Regions from separate parts of the Homo sapiens genome. Here region 2 is linked to region 1. Evidence: promoter capture Hi-C in 16 types of primary human blood cells and fetal thymus (Javierre and others, 2016). All regions are on one chromosome and are shown on one strand. Each heading gives the region's core, a stretch centred on a gene start or on the middle of the fragment in contact. The rest is flanking DNA. Distances are from core to core; before and after follow the strand shown.

Evidence for each region. Contacts are between HindIII fragments. The CHiCAGO score rates a contact against its expected background, and 5 or more counts as called.
Region 2: a fragment that was not itself captured here is called in contact with the fragment with the promoter of STEAP3 in region 1 in 1 of 17 cell types (M1 macrophages); the score reaches 5.0 in M1 macrophages.

What each region holds. Positions count from the first base shown.
Region 1 is chr2:119,222,169-119,225,758 of GRCh38, forward strand. STEAP3 (STEAP3 metalloreductase) reads left to right here and starts at 1,666. Exons shown (of 6, transcript NM_182915.3): 1 at 1,666-1,720. RefSeq lists silencers at 1,409-2,188, 2,249-2,318. The HindIII fragment of the contact is 5,957 bases long and covers 1-3,590 here.
Region 2 is chr2:118,909,260-118,913,021 of GRCh38, forward strand. No RefSeq gene overlaps it. Among named protein-coding and RNA genes, the nearest start is that of MARCO, 31 kb to the right of the region's middle. The HindIII fragment of the contact is 4,597 bases long and covers 1-3,762 here.

The DNA.
Region 1 (3,590 bases), core at 416-2,915:
ATTTCCCAAGCTCGGTTTCCTTGTGCTGTCCTTGGGCATTAAAGGAAGGCTATTCAGCCATCCCCATCAGCAGGAGCAGGCATCAAAAGAACAGCTACTGCAGGGGGAGCATATTAGGGGCACCAGAGGGGGCTAGGAACTGGGTCTTGTCTTCTCAAAGTTTACAACCCACTGCAGGGGCCACTCACCAGCCCTGGCACCCTAAGGGCAGGAACCTCCATTGGGCACGTGTGTCTCCAGCACTGGGAGCACTGTCTGGCACCTGGGGCACTGTGAGTGTTGAATGGATAAAGGACCTGTAAGAATTGCCATAAGAGGTGTTGCCCTGGGGCAAGGTGGGACAGGAAAGTTCTTGCAAGAGAAGAGAGGCTCTGGCCTTGGGCCCTGGCTGAGCAGAGAGCTGGGAGGTGGGTATTCGGGTAGGAGGAAAGCTGTGGAGGGGGAAAGCAAACTGCCTGCGGGGGTGGGGGGGTTCTCGGCGGGAGTTGGGGGTGGAGGGAAAGGCGCTTTACAGCAGCACTCCCTCCACAGGGAGACCAGAGCTCTGCCTCTTCCTCCCCACCGTGCCCTTTGGGGTCCAGTTGTGGGGCCTTCCTTGAGGCCCAGCTCCTGCCTCTGGCCTCCGGAGGCTTATCTCCCCAACAGAGGCTGGCTCCCCAGAAAACAGGATTCTTAGACTTCCTAAAAATAACCTGAAGCTCCTTATCAGAGGCTAATAGTGTATGTCTCCCAGGAATACTCTAGAAAGAGTACCAGGGGTCAGGAACCCCCACTCAGCCTCCACGAATCTGAGCGGAAAAGCCCGGGTCTCCTCACCTGTAAAGAAAATAACTGCAGCCGGCAAATGTGACCACAGGTGAGAAGGGGCTTCGGACCAGGGCGCACACCTCTAGAGAGGTGCCCACAGACAGCCTCCCCTTACTTACGCCCTGCTTCGCTGCAGTGCTGTGAAGCCATCGGCATTGGAAGTGCGGAGGGCAGCGGGCAGTGCCCCAGGGGGAAGGGGGGACGGGTAGGGTTTCAGAGCCCAGAAGGCCTAGACAGGGAGGCAGCTCCGGGAGAAAGGTACCCGCCATCCCACCGGTCTTGGAACCTGAGGACTGCTGGGAAGGGTCAAAAGTCTGCCCTAAGGGTGGACAAGGGACAGAGATTGGGGGGGGACCACAAAGGCCTGGGCGCAACCTTGTTGAGAGGGAAGGGATCCGGACCCAATCTGGAGCCCTGGTCTCTTCCCACCTGCAACCGTGGCTGCCACTTGGCCTCGGTTATAAAATGGACAAGGATTCGAGGTGCTCCTCAGGTTAAGAGAGGGGGGCCTAGAGGTCACCCTGGCCTCGGTGCCCTCCGTGGCCGGGTTAAGAGGAGGTCCCGGAGTTCTGCTCACTTCAGCCGTGTGCCGGGCACTGCAAATCAGGAAGTGTTGGCGCCGGCTGGCGACCTCCCGCCTGGGGCCAGGGGAGGAGGGTGGTTGGACGCTGCCACCGCTGCCGGGGCTGTGCAGGGCTGGGCGGGGAGCGAGGACCCGGCGGCTCCTGATTGCGGCCCCGGGGGAGGTGGCCGAGCCGGATAAGCTGCGGCGGGCTGGAGGGCGGCCACCTCCCCTGCAGGTCCGGCCCTCCCGGGCGGGTGGGGCGCGGGGGAGGAGGAGCCTCGGGCCGAGCCACCGCCTTCGCCGCGGACCTTCAGCTGCCGCGGTCGCTCCGAGCGGCGGGCCGCAGAGGTGAGTGTACCCTCCCCCGGTCTCCGCGGGGCTGCGTGCTGCGCCCGGTCCCCGAGACGCCCGCCCGGTTGCACCCTGCGCCGTCGCTGCGCGGACCTCGGGTGCCGCCACACGTCTGGAGGCGACTTCTGTCCCCTGGGACCGAGCCACGTGCGCCCGGCGGCAGAGAAACCGGGTTCCGGGGCCCCCACCCCGTGTGCCTTCCTTCCCTAGGCGTGGAAGCCGCTTGCGCCGCGCAGGTTAGGCAGGGCCGGCGGCGACAGTGGCGGGGAGCAGGCTCCGGAGCCCCGGGTGCAGATGTGGGCGCCCCTCCGGATGACCCCGGCTGAGTCCACAGGTCCCGTGTGCCCCACGGCTGGGGCTCTGGCCAGCGGTCCCAAAGGAGGGCTGGTAGCTGTGGGCGGGGATCTTCCAGGCTCTTCCTCGCCAGACCTCCCAGTCCCTTCGCAGCCGAACAGGGCAGGGACAGGGGCAGGTGCAGGGGCTGGGCAGGGGCGCCCGACCTTGGTCCCCAGGAGGAGGCTGGCCTCACCAGTGCCCGCCTCTGCCCGCGGAGCCCTTGCCTGGCAAAGTTCCCCCTCCTGCCCGGCAAAGCTCCCCCTCCTGCCCACTTCCCCGAAATTTGGGGACAGGCTGCCCGGAGAGGTGTGGTTGGAACTTTGGTCACTCTGGGTAAATGAAGGGGAGGGTGTGCCCAGATAATATGCGGTTTGGGGACCAGAAAGCCGGATCCGTGGGGAGAAGCAGGAAGGTCCCGCTGGAGCCCTGGCAGAGGGCACAGAGAGGCCTCCCAAATATCCAGGGCCACCTCAGAGATGGGCTCCAGAAGTGGGGATTCTGGAAATGCCCCCAGGGAGGTATTTCTGTCCATCAGAGTGCAGCCATAATATAATTAACAGCAGATATTCCCATTTATGTGTGCCAGGCATCTTGCTAAGGGCTTTGAGCACAATATCCCAGTTAATCCTCACAACAGGAAGGCACCATTATCTCTTGTTAAAAATGGGGAAACAGCCTCAGAGAGTCCACGTATTTTGCAAGGATACACAGCTAGGAAGTTGCAGAAGTAGAATTTGAACCCAGAGTTATCTGACTTGGAGCCCAGAGGAACCTACCACTGGGGCGAAACAGGCTGTGTCCTCACGGGGATTCTGGCAGCCCCAAGAATACAGTGCTGAGAGCCAGAAGGTCCACAAAACCAAAGGGTCTCACCTGGGTGTGTCCTCTCAGTCACCTGCAAGGCTTGTTAAAAATATAGATCCCCAAGTCCCATCCGAAGCTGACTGAATCAGCTAGGGGCACCTGGAGGACCCAGACTATGTCTTACTCATCTCTGTCCCTGGTGGCCTGCAGAGGGGCTGGCAAGGAGCAGGTGCTTAGTGAATGTCTAATGGGTAAGTGGGCGGGGTGGGGTAGATGGTGTCACTAGTGTCCTGAAGGGGGCTTAAATGGAGCAGGTGGCCTCAGCCAGGCAATCCGGCAGCAGGTATGGAAGTGACACAGTCTAATGCTGGCCTCAGAGCCAGCAGGGAGCTCAGGCTGGGCCACTTGTCCACCTGGGGGTTGAACAGCCTGCCCCAGGTTTGCTGAGGTCCCCAGGACCAGGCCAGGTCAAGCTGGGATCACACATGTTCCCTCTCCAGCCTAGAGATGTCAAACAGGTAGATTCCTCTCCCATTCATATCTCCTATCCTTGGCCCACAGCCCTTCCCTTCTTGGACTTATCAGAGACCAAGGTGCTGGGCAGGGCTTCAGGTGGTTAAAAAGTGAAAGTTCTTGAGTGAAGTCCAAAGGCGCACACCTGAGAGCTGAGTGGGCAAAAGGTCGCTGGCTGAGTGCTGGGGATAGTCTGGCTTTGGAGTCAGATGGA
Region 2 (3,762 bases), core at 416-2,915, 310 kb before region 1:
CTCCCTTGAATATCAGAGGTGGTGGCTAAGCTGATGGAGCACAGGGGGAAGGGAGGAGTGAGTGGAATGCAGCTCCACCTCCCTCCTAACTGCTAAAGGAATATAGAGGTCGCAGTTGGGTCTGTCCAAGAGGGGCCCTAGAGGAATACACCCATTCCAACTTCTCCCACTGAGCAAAAGCTGTCTCGAAGGCCATCAGGACAGAAGTGCCATGTTCCTGAGTGAAGATGGAGTTAATGCCTATGAGAAAGATCAGTCATGGCTGGTGAGAGCCCAAACCTTTCCTCCAATAGACTCTCCTGGACCCCAAGACTCCCATATCAGAGCTTCACTGCTGAGTCTAGACTTTAAAAATGCTGATATGCAGATCTATAACCTAGATGAATAGGCCCAGGTTCCGTTGTTCATTCAGTAAACATTATGACCTCCAGTTCCAGGTCACACAGTATGCTAGGTGATGGTGGTACAAAGCTGAAAAAACATGGACACTTCTCTCAAGTGTCAGCATATAATTTTCAAAAAGTTAGAAACATAAATTTTCTTACCAATATAGGGTGAATGTGTGCCAAAGATTTTACTCAACTTTTGAATTAAATAATGAGAGACCAGTAATATGGTAAAATTGGTTCCAAGAGCACTTCATGACTTAGAATGATATAGTCCATCAGGAAAAAGTATGAAAGAGAGAGAGAGGAGGAGGGAAGGAAGGAAGGAAAGAAAGAAAGAAGGAAGATTGTTAGGCTAGATCAAAACTGGTTAATGTCCTACAGGGCAATAACAGCATAATATTTGAGGTTATCTTTTTTTTTTTTTTTTTTTGCCAGACAGAAATCTGCAGCTAAACATGTCATTTCCCAGTGCCTAGGTGCTAACCAAATAGCATATACCATAGTCAAGCACAAGTACATTCTCTCTGAGAATTAAAAACGGTTTGTTAAACAATGCCCTGGTAAAACATTGAAGGACCTACTGTACTTCCTGTCTAGTTACAAGATTTCAAAACTTTTTTCTTGACACAAGAAATGTAGAATAACATGACAATCAACCCTCCAGATGAGACTAGGATTCAGGTCAATGGATAGAGACAGAGGAGAAAATATGGGCCTTGGAGCCGGGAAACCTGGGTATGAGTCCTGTCGCCCAGGTGTTGTGTGGCTTTGGGCAACTCATATTACCTCCTAAGCCATAGGTTCTTTCTCTGCTCATTGAGAATGTTGAACTGCATAGGCTCTGGTCCCCGCTTTGGCCCTAATATTTTCTGAATTACAATGGATTATGAAACAAGGCCATCAGGCAAGTCCTTCTGTCTGTAGTGGCAGAGCAGAGGAAAAGTGCCATGGTAGGTCTTCAGATAACTGAAGAAGAGAGGGAAGGGGAGGAAGAGGGTGCATAAGAGCATCAAATGCAAAGACAGCGTACCAAAGACAGACAAAAGGATTTCCATCCAAGCTCTACCCTTCTCCCAGCCTCTTCTCCCAATCAGTAGTCTGGGATGTTGCAAAGAGTCAGGACAGGCTAGGTCATGCTGCAGTAACAAATTGATACTGAAATCTCAACTGCTGAACACAACCAAAGTTTATTTCTTCCTTGTAGAATTCTAGTGGGCAGCTGTCCCATGTGATGACTAAGAAATTCATACTTTTTCTACCCTATATATCTACTATCTTTGTGTGTAGCTTCCTGAGTCACTGTAGCAGAGCAAGAGAGAGCATAGAGCACCCACACCTGCTTTTAACTACATGTAACTTGTACTCTTGGGGCATTGGCTAAAACTAGTCACATGGTTCCAACTAAATCAAGGGGGCTGAGAAGTAAATCTTCCATGGATCTAGGAAGAAGAGAAGAACCAGATATTTGAGCCCTGATCTGGAAAGAATCTAGCTCCTATAAAGGCTGAGGATCTTTTGAGAACTCCAAGACACCATCATCCAGTCTCTGACTCTGGAACATCTGCTGGAATAAGGAAAAGTTCAGCCAGACACCTCGATACTCTGTGCAGCCAATCTGCAACCAGAGGCCTCCAAGCCTGGGGCCATGTCTACACAGTTCATGGAGAGGAGGCCTGGTTCATCTGAGTTATTACACCGTGTAGACAGCCACTTTGAGTCCTCAGGAAGCCAAAGCAGGGCTCTTAATTTCCCAGTGATCTGTGGCCTGAGGTTTCTGCATAGATCATTGCCAAAGTCCACTTTCTCGTGTTATAGAAGAAAGAATGTTCTTCTCAAAAGGAAAATCGTTTTTATTTGCTCCTGTGTATCATCCTCTGATTGTCCCTTGTTTATAACCTTGATTGTTTCAGAATCTAGATTCTTGTCTCTAGCAAGATTACAACTTCCTTGAGTAGGAACAATGTTGTTAGTTTTTCTAACAACAACAAATGCTGAGGATGGTGCTATTCATTGACTCATGCATGTATGATCAGAGCACCACAGGGCTGATGTCTGGATATGGATTAGTGACCAGGATTATTATGTATCACGGGTGCTAGTCAAGGATGCTGGTCAGAGATGTAAGGAAGGGGCTTTCCTAAACAGGCTAGACACATGAGAGTCTCTGACCCTTCCCTAACCACCAGCCTTCACCATTAACTATTTCTCTTTCAGTCTCTTTCTCTTTCAACTTGTTCCACATAATATTTGAGGTTTCATACAGATACACAGAAAATTGAACAACATTAAAAAATTGACAAAACGAGAATATCAGATTATCATTCTAAAAGGAACTCCCGGTCAGCATCACAAAAATTATTAACATTGTACTTGAGGCAGAGCATCTAGGACCGTCCCTAGTTCCTGGCGCCTCTGGCGGCCTCGCCTTTGCTCAGGGCACCAAACAGAACATGTGGGAGGTGGGACCCAGTGGAAGTGGCACAGGATGCCCATGTGTACAGGGCACATGATGAAGGTGCCACAATGTTCCTGGGCATGGAAACCAAAGCCACTCTCAGGGAATAGAAGAATACGTGCCCTTCTGAATGGAAGTAGATTTAAAAGGCACCCTCCTTCTTCTAAGCTCTGTCACCATATTCAATGGCACGTCACATCATGATGGGATTTGTAGCTTGAAGCCAGTGATGCCACCAAATTGCTGTGTGACCTTAGTAAGTTATATCACCTCACTGAATCCCAGCTTTTTCATCTGTAAAATGGGGATAAGACCAGTTGTCTTGCAGGGTTTTGTAAAGAATTCCTGTCAGTCTCTGAGTGACTTGCCTGATTTTCCTCCTCAGTCTGGGAACTGCAAAATGTTATTGAACTGAACCTGGGTCGGCTCACCCAGCACAGCAAAGCCAAACGCTGACACTGAGATTTGCAGGGAGAGAAAGAAAGCATTTATTGCAGGGCACCAAGCAAGGGAAATTCAACAGCTAACACTTAAGACCTGAGCTTCTCGATGGCTTACAAAAAAGGGCTTTCAAGGGCAGGGATACATTTCAGAAAGCAGAAGTTACAGGCAAAATCATAAATCAATACATGTAAGTTATTGGTTTGGCCCAAAAAGGTGAGCTATCTTTCTTTCTTTTTCTTTCTTTCTTCCTTTCTTTCTTTCTTTCTTTCTTTCTTTCTTTCTTTCTTTCTTTCTTTCTTTTCTGAGATGGAGTCTCTCTCTGTCACCCAGGCTTGAGTGCAGTGGCACAATCTTGGCTCACTGCAACCTCTGCCTCCCAGGTTCAAGTGATTCTCCCACCTCAGCCTCCTGAGTAGCTGGAACTACAGGCCCTCACTGCCACACCTGGCTAATTTTTGTATTTTTAATAGAGAC